4 separate regions of the Homo sapiens genome follow, and all the other regions are linked to region 1. Evidence: promoter capture Hi-C in 16 types of primary human blood cells and fetal thymus (Javierre and others, 2016). All regions are on one chromosome and are shown on one strand. The core of a region is centred on a gene start or on the middle of the fragment in contact, and the rest is flanking DNA. Distances in the headings are between cores, read along the strand shown.

Region 1 (4,977 bases), core at 467-2,966:
CGATTACTCTATGCTGCTAAAAATCATTCCAAGGTAAAAAGGTCAATTCCTATCTAATGCAAAGAGAAAAGCCTGCAAGGTGGTGGGATGGTGAGACAGACTGCTGGTAGAACCTGTCTGCCTTGCTCCTTGGATTTCCTGTAATTTTGGACATTACTTAAATTAAGGCATTGAAACTGAATTACATCAACTTTATCTCAACAGAACAAATTTTGTGCAGCAGAAAACCCAATTTTGGCGGTGAAAAAGTCGTCCCAAAGACAAAGGGTCTTAAGTACATCTGACTTTTCGGAGACAGCAGCAGTGTGTCCTATTCTTTCTCTCCTGGCTCAGACTCAAAGAACTACTGCAGGCAATTCAGGTAACACTATTTCCTGGTAGTGTGATTCAGGTAACTGGAGAAAAAGGAAAATGCTTAAAGCAATAAACTAGTATAAAAGGGAACCTTCTGGAGTCCCGTAATAGCCAGTGAACTAGAAACTCTTGATATTTTATAGATACTGACACCAGTAGGGGAGCCAGGAGCCAAGTGCAACACCAGCCAAGGGTTGGAAGCAGGCAGAGAGAACAGTCATTGCCTGATCCTCTTGCTTCCACCGCAAAAGAGCGCCCCCACCCCAATACTCTCGTTCCTTAAAATGTCCCTATCGGGACCCACGCAGAAATACCCCCTCTCCCCTACAGTAACTCCGTACAATCCCAAATACCCTGCCGGAGTGTGACAGGCTGCGTCCACTTACTGAGCTGTCCCCCGCCCGACGCTGTACTCGGTTCCCGACCTCCAGCGCCCCCAACGCCGGCTGCTCCAGGGACCCCTGGCGCCCCCATCCCCGGCGGGGTTCCACTTTGCCTCTCGAAGTTGCCTGGATTGGAGAAGTAGTCGCGCAGCCGAGGCAGCTCCCGGCCACTCTCTAACAGCTCGGTATGCAGCTCCAGGGCGGTCAGCAAGTATTGATCGCGCAACAGCTGAGCAGCGATCGCATCAATTGATAATCGGGCCGGGGTCTCCCCGGTGCCCCCCAGGGCCACTGCAGCCGCCGACGCCTCCCCAGGGAGCCCTGGCCGCGCACTGCTTCCTAAGGCCACGGGATCCTGTGGCGACAGCGAGCCCGCAGAGCCAGGATCTAGGCCACTTCCGGCGCCCAGCCGAAGTACTGCCCGCCGTTCCTCTGTTGCAGCTACCTCGTCATCGTCCTCATCCGAATCACTGAGAAATGGATTCACGCCGCCACCACTGCCACTACCTCCAGGCGCCATCGCCGCCATCTTATCCTGTCAGGAGTGTGGGCGCCTCCCTGACTGGTTCCGACGGGCCGCAGCCCGAATCCTCTAGGCCTCAGGGGACACAGCGCACCTCCACAGCCCCGGCCTGACCACGTCCTGCCTCCCGACTTAGAGACAAGGAGTACGCTCCAAGGCAGGAGATCCGGATGCAGCTGCACCTGATGCCTCAGCCTCTGCTGCACCAGCAGCCCGGCTCTGCAGGCGTCTTCCTGGTCTCCAGTCTCGCGAGAACTGGAGCGTGCCCCTGCCCCTCTCCCCGATCTAGCCCCGCCCCAGCCCCGCCCCAGCCCACTTCAGCTCCGCCCATTCCCAGCGCCAGATAGCAAAGATTGAAGGCCCCGCTCTCCGCTCAAAAGCAAAACTCCACCCACGACTCCTCCATGATTGGTCAGAGAAGGAAGGCGTGGAGCGGACTGACGGGAGACTGGCCCGAGAATTATCGCGATAGCAGCAGCGGCCGGGCAGGTATTGGGGGCGTTCCGGAATTGAGGGGTGGTTGTAGTGGTGGCTTAGGAATACCCTCCCGGCTATCGCTTCAGTGGGTAGAGGGGACCACTGCCCGAGAGCTTTAATGGAGCTGGGTCCTGCCTTCGCGCTGAGGAGCCCTCGTTTTCGAGATCAGGCCTGACCGGGATAAGCTCCAGGTAAAGTTCAGGGACCAGTGCGCGGAGGGTGTCGGCGCCCAAACTGTGGTGTCGCGCCCGCGGACGCGCTGTTTCCCTACTGCGCTGCACTTTTTCTCGCTATTTGCTGCCAGTGGTGACATTTTGTCCCCATGGATAGCAAGTGCCCAGGCCTGTAGTCGGAATGTGACTTCCTTTCTTTTCCCTTCTCTGCCACATGCTTGCACACTCGGGAGGCCTAGCGACAGCACGACTTCTCAGCCCCGGAGGTGGTCCTGCCTGTGGGTGGGGACGGGGGCTGGAGAGACTAAACGGAAAAGGGAACGCTGAGGTTGGCATTTGCCTGGATCTGGGAACATCGTCGAGTTGGAAAACAAATTGTTAGGTACTCAATAAACGCTTAGGATTTAATACACGATTTACACAACAGGGACCCTTCAGAATATCTAATGCTGTCTCACCAGTAGACAGATAAGTAAACTTAAGCCAAGAGTGGTTGTTATAAAATCAGCTCCACGCCGGGCGCGGTGGCTCACGCCTGTAATCCCAGCACTTTGGGAGGCCGAGCCGGGCGGATCACGAGGTCGGGAGTTCGAGACCAGCCTGACCAACATGGTGAAACCCCTTCTCTACTAAAAACACAAAAATTAGTTGGGCGTGGTGGCGCAAGCCTGCAATCCCAGCTACTCAGGAGGCTGAGGCAGGAGAATCGCTTGAACCCCGGAGGCGAAGATTGCAGTGAGCCGAGGTCGCGCCACTGCACTCCAGCCTGGGCGACAGAACGAGACTCCGTCTCAAAAAAAAAAAAAAAAAAAAAAAAAAATCAATTCCGCTAATAAGGAGTCAAAGGAATTAACATCATTTCTCTTATGTCCCAAACGATTCTTTATCCACTGTCTCCTGCAACATTTCTGACTCGTTCATGCAGGCTAGAATCAAGGTTTTGGAACTTAGAACTATTTTAAAAGTTGAATGCTTCAGAGAGTTTTGATTTTTTTGATGAAATGTTAGCATATAAAGTACATATCCTAAGTTTAGAAGATCAACGTTTATCTTTTATGTCATTCCTTGATTATGATCTGAAAAGGTAAAGGAATTTCCAGTCAATACAATTAGACTGCTATTTCTTATGGCTCCTATTTTTTTCACACACAAATGACCACTTTTCCAGGCTTTAGATTTCCTTTCTTAGTGTACAGGTAAGTGACATATTACATTCAGTGTGTAGTAAACATTCCACAGTAAAGTATCTCCCGTTAGCTCCATGGAAAAATTAAAATAGACGATTCTTACATAACCTTAGGTCAGGTTATTGGTTTACATGTAAAAGTATGCCAACAGTTAAGAGTAGGCTTTAATTTCAATATACCCAGGCTCAATAAACTAAAATTTTCATTTGAATGGGGATTTGGGTTTTTAAAATTTTATTTTTGCTAGAAGTTTAAAAAAAAAGTACCAAGAATTTAAACTATTTTTTTATAGGACATTAGTTCCCAATGTTTTAATGATAAATAGTTTTCTGTGCCATATATTAAAAGTAAAACATGGGGAAAAAAATCCCCCCAAATAGAATTGAAATGGCAAATACTGTATCCTGTTAGAGATTTCTTAGCAAAAGGGATTGCTGATCCGTATTTTAGTTGGATTTTCCAGAGAGATTAAAATGGAACCAATTTCTGGAATCCAGGAATGGAGGATTAGTGAATGGCATGGGAAGGGCATGATTAGAAATGGATTGTTTATATACAATATTTCCATCTCCATGATTGGGAAATTGAGAAATCTCCTGCATTTAGGATTCCTGAAGAGGATTATGCTTATAAGATAGAAAAGCTTAAGTTCAGATCCCAATTCTACTCATTATTTATTGTGAGACCTTGAAAAAGTTACCTAACTTCTCAGCCTCACTTGCATTCGTCTATCAAAGGGGATAAGGAAAGTACACAGAATTGAGAATGTTCTTGTCCCAGTGCCTGGTACCTGCTACACAATAACTATTACTGTGGTCACTTATTAATTATTGAAATATTAGTATGTGTTGAGAACATTTGACAAGTGTTTAAAAATAAAACTAATATCAATCGTTTTGGCAGTGCAAGCCTGAAAAAGCAATTAAGTCAGTAGGGCTGAAGGGAGTATCTTTAATTTGGGGTCTCAGTTCTAAAACACAAGTTGAAAATAGATTTAAAATGTTTCCTCAGAGTTGTAAGAACTTGCATGTAGAGGAATTCTTCCCATACAAATCTGTGGTTTTCTGCTTCTATTTCTGCCTCCTATCCTATAACCATGAACTTGTGTGTTTGATCTTGTAAGCCCATTAGAAATCAACTGCCCAGTCTTCCCAGTATGTACTTTTCTTTTCCACAATACACAGAGGTTTGGTTATTCGTGAATAATGTATAAGTAACACACACTGGAATATTAAAAATTACCGATCACTACTTATAATAATGTATTATTAATAGTGTTGGGAAATTTCCTTTCTACTTAGTAAGATTTTCATTAATCTAGGCCCTTACAACTAATGTTTCATCTGACTAATGATAGTTATTAAAGCTTGTGCCTTAGCAATGAAGATGTAAAAGATGCCTTTTTTCAAAGCACGTCAATCATTTTAGTATTTAAAAAATTATTTTAGGTTTTAATAGTCTTAAAAGAACCACAAGTAATATTCTGAATGCAAGTTTTGGTTGACTTGAGGTTTTAGTAATACCTCATGTTTTATTGTTTTTCAGTGTGTGGTAAACATCCACAGATAAACTAGATAACTTGTATTGGTACATGCATATATCTTTTTAAAATTTTAATAGTTATGTGTTTGTTTTGGAGGTATTTCTTTTTCAATAAATCTGAATAAATTGTGATTTTCTTTAAAGAGAAGTATTAAGTAATATTTAGTATTAAGCAATTAAACTAATTAAAATAAGTAGTTAGTGAATGCTGATATTTTGTAATAACTGCAATTTTATTTACATTAATAGTAAATTACTTTATCATAAAAGGTTTAGTTTTTTTTTTTTTAAAGTATTTTCAGTCTTCACATCTTGTTCTGGAGGAACAAAAACAGAAG
Region 2 (4,977 bases), core at 1,855-4,354, 390 kb before region 1:
ACCTGGCCTTCCACAGCACTGTGACACCGTCTCGGGAGGGGTCCACCTGGCCTTCCACAGCGCTGTGACACCATCTCGGGAGGGGTCCACCTGGCCTTCCACAGCGCTGTGACACCGTCTCGGGAGGGGTCCACCTGGCCTTCCACAGCACTGTGACACCGTCTCGGGAGGGGTCCACCTGGCCTTCCACAGCGCTGTGACACCGTCTCGGGAGGGGTCCACCTGGCCTTCCACAGCACTGTGACACCGTCTCGGGAGGGGTCCACCTGGCCTTCCACAGCACTGTGACACCATCTCGGGAGGGGGGTCTAGATACCCATTCAGGATTCTCTACTACATTGCTGGTGTGAGTGTAAATCACTTGGAAAACAATACTGCAAATCTTGGCAAACTGAATACTTGCATGTCCTACAACCCAGCCGCTGCACTCCCAGCTTGCCGCCCTAGAGGACTCGTGTACACACGAACCAGGGACAACAATGTTCCCAGCAGACTTGTTTGTAACAGAAAAAAAATTAAAACCACCCAGATGTCCATTGACAGAATGGAGAAATTATCTATATTCTTCCCCACAATGAGACTATCATAAGGTAGGGAAAATGAATAAATATAAGAACACAACATCAAGACCATAAAATCAGATGAACAGAGCCAGGCACAGAAAGCTAGGCACAAAAGGATACCCTTATAAAGCTCAAGAAAAACAAAAAGAAACGGTATATTTAGGAGCAGTGTGTGGGGAAATAAACAAGTAAAAGAGTAACAGAAGGCCGGGCGCAGTGGCTAACGCCTGTAATCTCAGCACTTTGGGAGGCCAAGGCGGGTGGATCACCTGAGGTCAGGAGTTCGAGACCAGCCTGGCCAACACAGTGAAACCCCTTCTCTACTAAAAGTACCAAAAAAAAAAAATTGGCTGGGCGTGGTGGTAGACGCCTGTAATCCCAGCTACTTGAGAGGCTGAGGCAGGAGAATCACTTGAACCCGGGAGGTGGAGGTTCCAGTGAGTCGAGATTGCACCATTGCACTCCAGCCTGGGCAGCAAGAGCTAAAGCATGTCTCACAAAAAAAAAAGAAAAGACTAACACAATCTAAAGCAGTGGTTACCTTAGTGTAGTGGGGGAAGGGGAGGGAGGGATAGCTAAGGATATGGGACATGCTAGTTAATGTGAATCTGGGTTCATGATTTACACGTTACCTATAGGTGCATTATTTGTTGGCTGAAAACGAAAGTTGGTGCCCTGTAAACAATCAGGGAATTTATAATCATTTCAAACTCACTGCCCACCCAACCGGATCCAGAGGGCACAGTCATTAGATGGCTCCTGACAAAGAGCCAAGGCCCAGGACGGTGCTGGCCACCAGGACTGCGTCAAGGGCGGCGTGGAGCAACACACACAGGCCCCCAACCGTCTCTTATAAATTACCAACCGTTTAAAAACTTTGAGCCTGGATTACAGCCAAGATAAGCAATGAAATAAAAAATAGTACACATTATACTGAGAGAGGGGCCTGGCTAATAAAATCACACTAACAAAGTTGATAAAGTAATGAGTCCTTTACACTTTTAGTGGCTAAAGGCCTAAACTGGAAATACGAGCTCAAGGTTGACAAGGACTCTGCCTCATTGCTACCATAGTGTTTGGCACGCAGCCGAGTACTCAAAACTCACGGAGTGCAGTCCCCCTTTCTCTAGTGGTCACGCAGATTACCTCTATATAAAGTTACTTGGGAGGCCGGGCATGGAGGCTCATGCCTGTAATCCCACCACTTTGGGAGGCAGAGGCAGGCAGATCACTTGATGTCAGGAGTTCAAGACCAGCCTGGCCAACATGGTGAAACCCCGTTTCTACTAAAAATACAAAAATTAGCTGGGTGTCATGGTACATACCTGTAATCCCAGCTACTCAGGAGGCGGAGGCAGGAGAATCGCTTGAATCCAGGGAGGCAGAGGTTGCAGGGAGCTGAGATCCCGCCACTGCACTCCAACCTGGGCGACAGAGCAAGACCCCGTCTCAAAAACAAAAAGGTTATTTGGGGGAAGAACTGAGGAGCATCCAGATGGTAAATAACTTTGGGATTCACTGCCCACCCTGCAGGGAAATGGATTGATCCTTAACCCCAAAATAATTACATACCTAAATAAAACTTTAAAAAAATCGCCATGTATGATGTCCTATCTCCACTTTTACAAAATTTACAATGAGGCACAATTCTTAAGCTGTTTTTCATTTTTTTATTGCTGTTAATTCAAGGAAAAAAGGTTGCATAAAATCCAATCTGTTCTAGAAATATAAGTGGCCTTTCCAGTACATAACATTTCAAATATCAAAGTATATGGTAAACATACAAATAAGGAGAAGGTAACATACCTCCTATGTACAGTACAGTATTTTAAATCATAAAATAAGCTCCATAAAGTACAACTGGCAAGTGATTCACAACGCGGCCCATAAGTGGCTTATCAAAACTCTCACTTGAACAACTCAACTGCAGCTTAACAATTAATTTAATAATGTGGTCCAAAAATACCCAGATCAAATAAAATATATTTAATCAAAATAATTTCCTTTACTTGAACTTTCTTTCTAAATTAAAGCTTTCATCTACCCCTTCACACCCACCCCTTCCCCATAACTCCCACCCCTGAAAGAAAGTTTCAAAATGTACATTGGTGCTATAAATATAAATGCTACTTATGAAGCATGAAATTAAGCTTCTTTTTTCTTCAAGTTTTTTCTCTTGTCTAGCAATCTGTTAGGCTTCTGAACCAAGACCAAATGTTTACGTTCCTCTGCTGCATACCAACGTTACTCCAAACAATAAAAATCTATCATTTCTGCTCTGTGCTGAGGAATGGAAAATGAAACCCCCACCCCCTGACCCCTAGGACTATACAGTGGAAACTGTTCATTGCTGATGAATGCAGCAGTCACCAAAAAATACACCCAATCTTCCAGATAACCTCAGTGCACTTTAGGAAATCAAAAATTACCTGGAAGCAATTTAGTACATAGATTGGCTTTTTAAAAAAACTTTTTTTTTTTTTTAAAAACAGCAGCATTAAACTTAGTGACATGACACCGACATGATTAATACCATCTTAACACACTCAGAATTCCGCCTTTCACATTATAATCAAGCATAGTGGTAAACTGTTATAAAAGTGACTTTGCTATGAGAGACAGGTTAGGGAACAAACAACCTGACTTATGGTAGAAACCCATAGCTCTGTTCAGATTGCAATAAACCATACACATTTTAAACACAACGTAACACTGTAACAGCTGGTACAGGGAAAGAAGAAATCTTCACTCAAGTAGTGTCTCTTTGAGCACAACACGGTGGTAGACAAGTAAAATTGGCTGTAGACTTTCATTACAAACACAAGCACACAGAGAGCGACATTCACACCAGTGTGTTCACTTTGTGTCTCTCTGAAGCAACAGGCTAAAAAAGGATGATGGAAGTAAAAAGTTGGTTTCAGAAAAAGCTTTTTGTCCATTTCGTACGTCATATTTTTTCAGTTTCATATGGTTTGACTTCTTCCTCTCTCTTCCACTTATTTTCATTTCTATTTGGACAACAAGCACTGCATATATGTATTTACGTGACGCTGTTTATTACATATATACACACTATTTTGGGAGTTTGATTCCTCCCATAAGATCAGGGTGAAACATTCTGCCCTTGGTTTATATGCAGAGCAGTTTACAAAAGTGGGGTGAATGCACTGCTGGCTGCTCCTGCTGCGGGCCGGAGACAGAGTGAGGCTGGCTGGGGAGGAAGTGTCGTTTAGGGTGAAAGTGAGAAAAGCTGGGAAGAAGCAAAATTTCTTTTTTTTTTCAAAACCATATGACTGTCACCAGTGTTGTAAAAAAAAGGTCAAATACACAGTTTTAAAGATTCAGTAAACATTGCACACAGCAAGTATTCAGTGTAAAAAAAAAAAAAAAAGCACGCACCAACATTTAAGTTTGTCTGAAGGTTTAAATTACATGTATCATACATATAAGCCTGTTGTTGAACCAGGAGACCAGAGGCTCAAAAGCATTGCATTCTTTCTTGTTTTGGACATTGGTACAAGAGAAATGAAAAATCCCAACTGCATAGAAATCTAGGAAATGTATAGACAAAGAAACAAAATACCTTTCCTTTCCTCCCCTCCACACCCCATGACTCCCCACACTTGAGTGTATTAAGTAGGCAAGCTTTACTCGTTTCAGTCTGCAGAATCCAACGTATCATTAGAAGGGGGGAGGGGAGGTGCGTATCTCAGTCTGTAAGTGCCTAAAATGGGAAAGACAGAACTAAGTCACCGCTTACAAGCAAACGTCATCACAAACCACTACGTACAAGCTATCACACGGGCATGCTCTCCACAAGGCACCTTCGTCAGCTCTAGTGCCACTCCAAATGGCCAATCCGCTCACTTTAAAAAGCAATGTAAAGTTTGTGCTTTGAATTCAATCTAAAAGCTATCAAACTTGATCTTTCTTTAAGAATGCCAAGTAAATATATTCCCAATTTAAGACTTTTTTTGTTTCTGGGTAAGATTTGGCAAAACGACAAAGGTCAAATGCAAGTGAAAATAACAGCCTGAAGTTGACATAAAATTTGGTATCTTACTCAAACATAGGTAAGACCATTTTCTTCTTTCTGGTGGTAGTAATATTAAACTTTGTTCAAATTCCTTTACTCTCAAATCAAAATAGTACTGAACTATTTTGTTCCTGTATTAATGCAATAGAATCTTGGACCTTTTTTTTTTTAACATTTGCTGGGAAGGAAAAGGGTAGCATGGGGAAACAGGCATGAGGCAGCTGGTTATGCAGATATACTAAATAGTTACTCAAAACCTAATGTCAGATAACTAAATTACTTCCTAGGTTTTCAATATTTAAAAATTTTGCTTACTCTATGAAACAGGATTGTAGCTTAAAAAAAAAAAGTGCTGCAAGCAAGAGATTTAACATTACA
Region 3 (4,977 bases), core at 896-3,395, 370 kb before region 1:
GCAAGTTTTAACTATCCATATATGTGTGCTCATAAACACATTAGCTGTTACATGTTTCAATATACAACTGTCCTTCAGTATTTGCATGTAATCTATGCACATCCTCCTGTATATTTTAAATCATCTCTAGATTACTTATAATACCTAGTACAATGTAAATGCTATGCAAATAGTTGTTATGCTGTATTGTTTAGAGAATGACAAGAAAAAGAATTTTTTCCCCCAAATACTTTCAGCTCACAGTTGGTTAAACCCACCAATGCAGAGATGGAGAGCCAATTGTACTATAAATATCCTTTATTTTAATTGCTACCTAGTACAAAGACATTATTTATTTATAACATTACTAACATTTGAAATGTTCAGGCAATTTCCTGGTATTTGCCCTTGCAAACAATGCTGCCTCAAGGACCCGGGCCCATGTCCCCTTTTGCAGGTGTGTAACAATTCTCATAGATGCAGGATTGCTGGACAGCAGCATATAATTATCTCCAACTTCACTACACAGCACCAAATTTCGTCCAAAATAGTTCTGTCAATTTATATCCCCATCAGCAGTGCCTGAGAGTTCCCACTGCTTCATATCCTTGATGTCAGACTCCAAAATGTTTTGTCAATCTGCTGAGTGTGAGATGACACCTGTTTCCATTTGCATTTTCCTGACTACCAGTGAGGCTGCACATTATGTAATAGCTGTTCAGGTTTCCTCATCTCAGAATCACCTATTTATGTCTTTCACCTATATTTCTGTTGGGATGATTGTCTCATTGACTTTTTAGGAAGATCCTTCCATAGTCTGGATATAGTCTTATCTGTAAATATCTTGCAAACACCATCTCTCAATCTATGGATGGTCTCCTGGCTATATGGTTCCTTTTGTCACAGAGAAGCTCTAATTTATTAAGATCTCTACCGTGGTCATGCTCTACTTTATTCAAGAAAGGCTTCTCCTCCCAAATTAACATTGAAAAGTTTAAGTTTTACATTTTACATATAAGTTGTTATTCACTTGAATGTCTTCTGCATGATGTAACTGGGAATCTAATTATACCTATTTTTTCATATGGAAAATCAATTGTGCCAACACCATTTATTGAACGGTCTATTCTTTGTCCACACACCATTTATTGAACAATTTATTCTTTCTCCACACACCATTTATTGAATGGTCTATTCCTTCTCCACTTATTTGTAATGCAACCTCTGTCACATTCCAATTCCTATATGTCAGTTTCTTCACTCCTTAAATGTTCTATCCATGTGCTATCAGCAGGCAGAATGATTTACTCTAGTGAATCTACCTTTACCTTCTTCTTGACTTGAAGCTTCAGAGCTGTCTTCTTTTAAGTGTTCTAATATCTTAGAAGTCTTCAGAGAGGATTGTAAGTTATCTGCAGGAAGCATTCAATACTATTAACTTTTTAGGAAAATTAAAATAAAGAAAACAAATATAATAATTGTTTTTTTACCTAAGGAAAATGAATGGAGGGTGAGTGGTGAAGAAAACATGGCTACTAGTGAGAAGGCAAGATGACACAGCCCAAAGCACTAGACTGTGAGTGGGAACCGTGTTCAAGAGGCCAGCTGTTCCCTGAAGAGCGACTGACCTGGACAAGTCATTTCATATCTGTCAGCCCCAGTGTGCTCATGTGCAAAATGAGGAAATAAAGTAGAAAGGTGCTTCTTAAACATCTGTGGTGTGGTAAAGATTCAGTTTTCATTTTTTTAAATCTTCAGTTTGCTGTGGATCGTTACTTTTGTAAAATACAATAAAATAACGTGGCACTGTCAAATTGTTAATCTCTCAGTGTCTGCTCTCAATTTCTGTTCTCGTGTTACAGAACAGTAACAAGCAATTTATGGACCAGCACTGGCCCATGCAACACATTTTGGATTACTTCCCCATTAAAATACAGGCCAGCAGGACTCCACAGTTCAACATCTTAACTCATTCAGGACTTTAGCATTATTTTTTTTCAGCGCTAGTTTTCAGGATATGGAGTGATGCTCTCTGTACCAGAGAATAAAAAGATAAAGCTATCAATTAAAAAAAAAAAACCCAACAGTGTATGCAAATGAACCCTGACAACAGTATATTCACTAGTGAAACAACTCAGATATGTAAGAACGTTAGGCTGACAAGATTTCCCACAATCTCAAGTTCTGTACTTTCATACAGTGTTTTAATTTTACAACCTAAAAACAAAATCCACCAACCTCTTTAGCACTGCTCATGTAATTTAAATACTGCCACACCCTCAAGATGAGTTTATTACTTATATATGAACTCCTCACTTGGGTGAGTTTTCCTGAGCAGCCTGTTCATCTGAACTAAAAGTTTAACTTTGTGCTCAATTCAATGCCTTTTTGAAACTAAACTGATGCTATTGATACATGTTCAATAAAAAACACATTTGGCGCAGGGGGAAAGCACTGATGGTTAAATCTACATAGCTACAGAATGATCAGGATTCTCTTTAATAAATGCTGTTGTTATCATTCAGACATAAATTTAATCATGAAGTTGTACATTTTGTCTTGGTCAACTAATCACAAAGAGTCATATTTTTAATTCGGATTGATAATTACGTTAGCATTAACACACTTAATTAGAGAAACTTTAAAGGTTAGCCCGTGTAACAATCATACTATTCTTGCACCTCTTTTTCTCACACCTCAAATTGAGGAAATATGTGTTTTTCTTTCCCCTTTAAATACAGGAAAAAATGACTCTCTTGAGAGCAGAGGGACAGTTTTAAAAAAGAAAAATGTTCCTTGCCATAGCTATGCCTGAAGTTCAGCAGAAATTCTGCTAAAGGACACGCCAATGTTACTGACAAAATATTTGTAAAAGGCAGGCTGAGGTAGATGTGTAGAAAATTAAACACAAGGCAGACAGTGGTGAAAGGTGAAATAAGAGGGCAAAACTCAACATACGGAACATAAGAAAAACTGGCAAAGCTTCGTGGAAGAGGTGATGTTTCAGCTGGGCCTTAAAACAGGTGTGATTTTAATGGGCTATGACAAAAGGATGTATGTTTAAGTAAGGGTACAAATGAGCAAAGACACAGGGCAGGCAACAGCTGGGCATGCTAGGAGACAGAGCACAGGGAGCAGAAGGAAGCTCCCGGAAGGTCACAGTGAGGCCTGAATTTCAGACCAAGCAGGAATTTAACACATTTATCCTTGTGATAATCCAGGGATAGATCAGAGTGGGAAACTAGAATCTGAGAAAAGAGTGAGGGTTTACCTTTAATAGTCCGTGCATGAAAGAAAGGCCTAACTGTAAACAAAGGGATGGTGACGAAGGGACATAAAGGAAGACATCCTTTGTCTAGTATGGGTTGTCCTTTCCGTGATGAAAACAAAGAGGCAGAGTGAGAAGAACAGGGCTAACATTTTCTGTCTGATCGGCTGGAAAGGTCAATTGGGAACAGGTGACAGGAGGAAGACAGACTAGATCATACACCAGCACGTGGCACTGTAAGGTCTCCAGCCTGTGAGGGAACAGTTCCTGCCCAGGAAATGAAGGACTGGCCATGCCCCAAAGACTAGAGAGACTCAGGCCTTACCTTGGAATCAGTCTGCTCTGTTATATTAGCTTTTATTCATGACCTTCTTTAAAACTGCAGTGTAAAAACTCATTAAAAATGACATTAAAAATGTATGTCACTATTCCTTAACTTTAACTAAAGTGACAAACCTACACAAAATGACACAGTAAAGCAATAAAATCCAACAAAGAAAAAAGATTTCCACAGAGGGACAGAGGATGCTTACTGATACTGTGTAGGGAGTCTGATGATATGGACTGAAAGAAGCTGTGTACTTTCTGACTTTGTAGAAAAGCTTGTGATGAACTTGAAAATAGCTGCCTGCACATAAAAAGAAAAGAGATTTGTTAATTTCAGGTAATGTTAATCCACAAGAAGCTCAGTTTCAATTATAAAGCAGAATGAAGTGGCAGTTTAATTCAGGTATGGAAAAATATTTTTCCTATAGAAAAGAATATTATTTTCTAATGTATTTCCTATGGGAAGAAGTCAGTAACATTTAACAAAATTCATTTGCAAGAATCGACTAAATAGGTTCATTTTTAATTTTGTATAATCTAATGGTAAGTTTTCAATACTGGCCCAAAAATGTATTATTTCAGCCTTTGCCCAAGTGGTCCAATAGCCACCCTTCTGTTCAGAAAAACAACTGCAATTTCTTTACTCTTCTCCACAGGTGTTCTTCTCCTTATTTGGCTGTACTTTTTTTTTTTTTGAGACTGAATTTTGCTCTTATTGCCCAGGATGGAGTGCAATGGCGCGATCTCAGCTCACTGCAACCTCCGCCTCCCAGGTTCAAGCTATTCTCCTGTCTCAGCATCCCGAGTAGCTGGGATTACAGGCATGTGCCACCACGCCTGGCTAATTTTGTATTTTTAGTAGAGACGGGGTTTCACCATGTCGGTCAGGCTAGTCTCGAACTCCTGACCTCTGGTGATCTGCCCACCTCGGCCTCTCAAAGTGCTGGGATTACAGGCGTGAGCCACTGAGCCTGGCCTTTGGCTGTAGTATTAACGGGCATTCCCACACTCTCAAAGTGGGAGGTTGGGAAGTTTGGGATGCTAAGAGTCCTGAAAAATATGGAACAGTCAATTATGTAGTTATCATATATCATACATATATTCTACAACCTAAGGCATGACTAACTGATGACTCATGTTGAATGTGTATCATGCCATGAGTCAAAGTTATCTTTGAAACCCAGCTTTCCTCATATTTTATTAATGTAATTAAAAGACTCCAGCTGGAGGTCTTCCCGACAGTGGTACCTGTAAAAGGGCTCTTGGGCAAAGAATTAGAGCAGAATCTACCAGGAAGTTTACTTTGGATTTGAATACCAGTTCAGTCGCTTATAAGATGAAGCACCCTAAACAAGCCAGTTAGCCTTTCAACTTCCAATTTCTCATGGTTACAAGAATCAAAT
Region 4 (4,977 bases), core at 971-3,470, 320 kb before region 1:
CTCTTTATGTGTTCAATATGTATAGTACATGTCTCATGGTTTAGAATTCTTGAAAGAGGAAAGAAAGCCTTTATGTTTTAGGGACTAGTTACTAAAAGAATGGCTGTAATTCTTTTACTGTATAAAAGGTGCAAATGGTTATTTGGGGCAAAGGTATTATGTGCAGAGTGAGTGATCTGTGAACGCTTGCAATACCTTTACCCTTGTGCAATCACTCAGAACTGAACTTACATATCTTTTACACAGGAGAGAATTGGCATCCACCAATGTTTTGCTACTATTGATCCCAATCACTAAAATCTCTTAGAAATTTCAGGAAATGGTATATTTTCCATCCCTTACTATTCTAGTTTAAAGCATTAAGATTGGGGAAAATCTTTTACACCTTTGTTTCTGGTTTTTTTTTCCTTTGGAATATAATTTATTTACTTTTCAATGCTATCTTTTAGGATATATTTTTTCTCTTGTCCTAAAATTATCTCTTGGTGGAGGGCACTGTTAACTTTTTGCTTTGTGTGTGTGTAGGCTCATGTTATGCTATGTGTATGCTATTTTATGCTATGTGCCTGGTTATAACACATTTATCTATTTTGGAAAGTTAATTTTTAGCAATCAGAGAACATGTTTATCTCACTTGCCAAGAATAGATACTTTACGTTTCTGTTGCATTTCTTGTCTGCAGTGTTTCTCATCTCTTCCCAATTCTTTTAAATCTTAACCACGCTTGAGAACCCAGCTTGAATCACGGCTGGTTCCAGGACTCTTCCCCGGCTCTTCCACCTGGAAATGGTCTTTTCCTCCTTCCTTCATTTATTTCGCAAATAAATATTGAGTGCCCACTCTTTGTAAGACACTGATTAGGTAATAGAAGCTATGTAAAAGTTGTGACAAATAATTTTGCACTGGTAGATATGTGTTTCTATGCAGTCATGCACTGTATAACAATGTTTCAGTTAACCTAGGTTTGTATAAGTATACTCTATGATGTTTGCACAACAGTGAAGTCACGTAATGATGCACTTCTCAGAACATATTCCCATCGTGCAGAGATGCACAAGTATATCATATTTTCTCGGTTAAATTGTGATTTACTTGGGGGTACATCCTTCTCCTTATTGTTTCTTGTATTCCTTATAAAATTTAGCAGGGTGACTTCTACATAGTAAGGGTTCAAGAAAAAGCTGAATTTATATGATTATATTTGTAAATTTTCTTTAAATATACTTAGGTATGCAAGACACAAATAGTTCTTTTCTTTTTTTCTTTTGAGACAGAGTCTTGCTCTGTTGCCCAGGCTGGAGTGCAGTGGTGCGATCTTGGCTCACTGGTTAAAGCAATTCTCCTGCCTCAGCCTCCCAAGTAGCTGGGATTACAGGCACGCGCCACCATGCCCAACTAATGTTTGTATTCTTAGTAGATACGGGGTTTCACCATGTTGGCCGGGCTGGTCTCAAACTCATGGCCACCTTGGCCTCCCAAAGTGCTGGGCTTACAGGTATGAGCCATCACTCCTGGCCTAGGACTGAGTTATTTGAATGCAAATCAGGAAATGGCACATCGGAATTTATTATTTATTTTATTTTATTTTATTATTTTCTAGAGATGGGGGTCTCTCTATGTTGCCCAGGCTGGCCTCAACTCCTAGCCTCAAGTGATACTCATCACATCAGAATTTAGGGTACAAATATAGTCCATAACAATTGGAAATTTTAGTCCAGTCACCTCATTTTCCAACGCTATGATAAACATCCTTGTGAATGCTGTTCTCCTGGTCTAGAAGGCTCTTCTCAGCCTTCTGTGTGTCTAAGGCCCACCATTCTTCATTGTCAGGTTCCACCACTTCCAGAAGACAATAACCTGTCTTCCCCAACCATTTCAGTCCATACGGGTGCCATCTCCCTCTGAACTACTGTAGCACTTACCACCTAGTTCAGCAACCAGATTTCCCCAGCAACTCTTTCTATGTGGAATTCTTGTCTATTCTACGGGATATGGACCACATTATATATATACTTCTCTTTATGCCTGTGTGTCAAATACATTACTGATTAAAGCTTGGTTTTAAAGTCCAAATGTGGTCATATTGGTGAACTGCTATAAACCTTGCAGAGGCATTAGTAAAATAAAGGACTTCTTTTGGTACAAATTAGATGTGTGACAGGCTGCTTTTAACAGAGTATTGGCTTCACACAACTTTAAGTAGTGATTTTACCAGAAATGTTTACATTAAACAGCCTTTTTAGAAAGTAAACTGTTACAACTATCTTGTAAAGTAACCTAACAATATGTATCAAGAATCTTAAAACTTTTCATACCTTTTAGTGCACCTATTTTGGGGAGTTTAACTTAAGGAAACAATCCTAAAGCAGAAAAATAAAAAGCTTTGTATGTAAACATGTTTATAATAGGATATCAGTAATATTGTTGTTCCCAAAAAAGTGAATGAGCAAATACATTATATATACGTATACATACACACACAATATTTTATATGCTGATTGTTTCCACTTGTATTTCCCTGTGTTGATACAAATTTTACTAACTACATTTTTACTAGATATGTAATATTCTCTCATGTATATATAAAATTATATGTTTTATATAACATGTATAATTTAAATTTAAATATATAATATAAATTTATAATTTATATATAGTTATATAATATATATTTTTATATATGTATGAGAGAATATGTATCTAGTAAAAATATAGTTGGTAAAATTTGTATCAACACAGGGAAATACAATAAGTGGAAACAATCAGCATATAAAATTGTATATATGACATAGTCAAAATGATACACAAAAATATGAGTAGAAAGAAGAAATGAGAGGGAATATACCAAAATGCTAAGATGAGTTTTAGTGCCTGGATTGCCATTTAGATTTTTGTCTTTTTCTTTCTACTTTTTTTCTGTTTTCCAAATCATCAAAATTGGGCATAATTTCTGAATAAAAAAGAATATAATTTCAAATATGGAGGAGGCATCAAGGATTTAAATTTCAAGTAGACAGTTTTTAGAGTTTAAACATTTTAGTGATTTCGTGTCTGAAGTATGTGATTGTCCAAATTGTTGGATCTTCCCCACCCCCGCCCCTGCCCCCAACCCCGCCAAGTGCCGTCAGGTCTGGCGAGTGTCTAACCACTTGGTGGCCAGTTTAAATCTTTCCCACAAACTTTCTAGTTTATGTTGTCCCATGAGCCCTGGGGCAGTTTGGATTTTTGCAGAACTGAGAATAAGCTATGAATGAAAAGAAGAAAATGGGATTATAGATTCCTTTCCTCCACTTTATGGCCAGAATACTAGGTAGCTCAGGAAGTTCTGAATCAGTCCTTTTTCTAGGCAAAGGCAGAAATCCTGGGCTTGGGTTCTTCAAGGTAGGCTAATCAGGGTGTCAGAGATTTTTGGTGTCCTTTTAACATCCAGGAATTACAGATAAGGTAAATCAAGCCACGAACACATAGGTACTCAGGCAGCGATTGGACAAATTTATGCTCTACTACAGCAGATACATTTTGCCAATGCTGGAATAAATTGGCAAGGTACTAAGGTTTACCTCTGTTTAAAATTCCTGCTTGGGAATATCTACCTTAGAATAACTGTTCATTTTAATCAGGTTAAAGGGCACCAAGGAACAATTCTAACAAACAGAATCAGATAATACTAGTAAAAAGGGAAAGAGAATATCCTGAGAAACAGAACTGAAACTTAAGTGATAGGAGGAAAATGAAACGAAACTGAAACTTAGCCAGCAAAGCTATTTAAAAAAAAAAAAAGTCTCGATCTTAACAGAGACCTAGCAGGTAACTATATATGAGCCAGTATTATCAAAAGTAAAACCAATAAATGTTGTACATTTTCCTACGTTACACTTGAAAGAAACTCTTAACCAGCAGTGTGAGCTGCATGACCTTGCTGCAGCCACTGACGTTCTCTGAGTCTCAGTTTACTCATCTGTGAAAATAGGTGTAACAGTACATGCCAGCCTCAATTAAATACAGAACTTCAGGGCTTGAGGGGGTCTTGGAGGTCATCAGATCTTGGCTCCTCCACTGGACCAGGGCCTTGGGGCTACCATGCTTACCTTGTTGGTGTAAGTGAGCTCTCGCAGCAGCCAGACATACTGCAGAGCCCATTGTGGGTGCAGGCAAACTGACTCCCAGGTCATGTGCAAGAGGCCATGAGAGAAGACAGGAGGATATTCAACCAATCTGGCTTCAGAAGGAGGCTCTGTGAGGACAGCTGAGTGGCCCAAGGTGGCTCAGACAGGGTACAAGCAATCGTCATCCTCAGAGTGGGACTCCATAGTGTGATAAAGCAGCCATGGAGCGGGGACAGGAGACAGGGACGGGACACCACCAGGGCAGGGGACCCATGCAGACAGGACCCTGAGCTCAGAAGGGCCCTAAATGTTCTGCCAACACCTTCTTGATATTTTTTCTTTTCTTTTTTTTTTTTTTGAGAAAAGGTTTCACTCTGATGCCCAGGCTGGAGTACAATGGTGCAAATACAGCTCACTGCCACCTCAACCTCCAGTAGTCCTCCCACCTCAACTTCTTTAGTAGCTGGGACCACAGGCGTGCCCCACCACGCTTGGCTAAGTTGTTTCTTCTCTTCTTTGTAGAGATAGGGCCTCACTGTGTTGCCCGGCCTGGTCTCAAACTCCTGAGCTCAAGCGAACCTCCCACCCTGGCCTCCCAGTATGCTGGGATTACAGATGTGAGCCACTGTCCTGGCGTCATGGTGAAATTCTTAATTTTGTTAAGAGACATCCCCACAATTTCATTTCATACAGGCTCTGCAAATTATGTAGCCAGTGCAGGGTACAACATCCAAGATCTGCTGAACAGAGGGCTGGAGGGGAGGGGTTGTGACACAGGGTGATCAGAAACTGCTCTGGGATGTGTGACACTTCCCAAGCCTCAATAAACGGTAGAATGGGAATAGACTGCTTCCTGGCCCCTCAGGACTGG

What was found. The method cuts DNA at HindIII sites, captures the fragments that hold promoters and counts their contacts. A CHiCAGO score of 5 or more calls a contact.
Region 2: a fragment that was not itself captured here is called in contact with the fragment with the promoter of PIGN in region 1 in 15 of 17 cell types (megakaryocytes, erythroblasts, total B cells and 12 more); the score reaches 15.2 in megakaryocytes.
Region 3: a fragment that was not itself captured here is called in contact with the fragment with the promoter of PIGN in region 1 in 2 of 17 cell types (megakaryocytes and endothelial precursors); the score reaches 5.6 in megakaryocytes.
Region 4: a contact is called between a fragment that was not itself captured here and the fragment with the promoter of PIGN in region 1, in 1 of 17 cell types (naive CD4 T cells). The highest score is 5.7, in naive CD4 T cells.

The regions. Positions count from the first base shown.
Region 1 is chr18:62,183,795-62,188,771 of GRCh38, reverse strand. It overlaps PIGN (phosphatidylinositol glycan anchor biosynthesis class N), which reads left to right and starts at 1,716. Exons shown (of 31, transcript NM_176787.5): 1 at 1,716-1,928. RELCH (RAB11 binding and LisH domain, coiled-coil and HEAT repeat containing) reads right to left here and starts at 1,517. Exons shown (of 29, transcript NM_001346231.2): 1 at 741-1,517. The coding sequence starts at 1,266. RefSeq lists silencers at 832-1,051, 2,002-2,214 and an enhancer at 1,202-1,411. The HindIII fragment of the contact is 4,021 bases long and covers 1-3,742 here.
Region 2 is chr18:62,575,822-62,580,798 of GRCh38, reverse strand. It overlaps ZCCHC2 (zinc finger CCHC-type containing 2), which reads right to left. Exons shown (of 14, transcript NM_017742.6): 14 at 2,220-4,287. The coding sequence ends at 4,220. Among named protein-coding and RNA genes, the nearest start is that of ZCCHC2, 55 kb to the right of the region's middle. The HindIII fragment of the contact is 777 bases long and covers 2,716-3,492 here.
Region 3 is chr18:62,555,101-62,560,077 of GRCh38, reverse strand. ZCCHC2 (zinc finger CCHC-type containing 2) reads right to left here. Exons shown (of 14, transcript NM_017742.6): 6 at 3,781-3,875; 7 at 1,308-1,391. Among named protein-coding and RNA genes, the nearest start is that of ZCCHC2, 35 kb to the right of the region's middle. RefSeq lists a silencer at 1,477-1,576. The HindIII fragment of the contact is 1,636 bases long and covers 1,328-2,963 here.
Region 4 is chr18:62,505,193-62,510,169 of GRCh38, reverse strand. No RefSeq gene overlaps it. Among named protein-coding and RNA genes, the nearest start is that of ZCCHC2, 15 kb to the left of the region's middle. RefSeq lists an enhancer at 3,613-3,862. The HindIII fragment of the contact is 327 bases long and covers 2,057-2,383 here.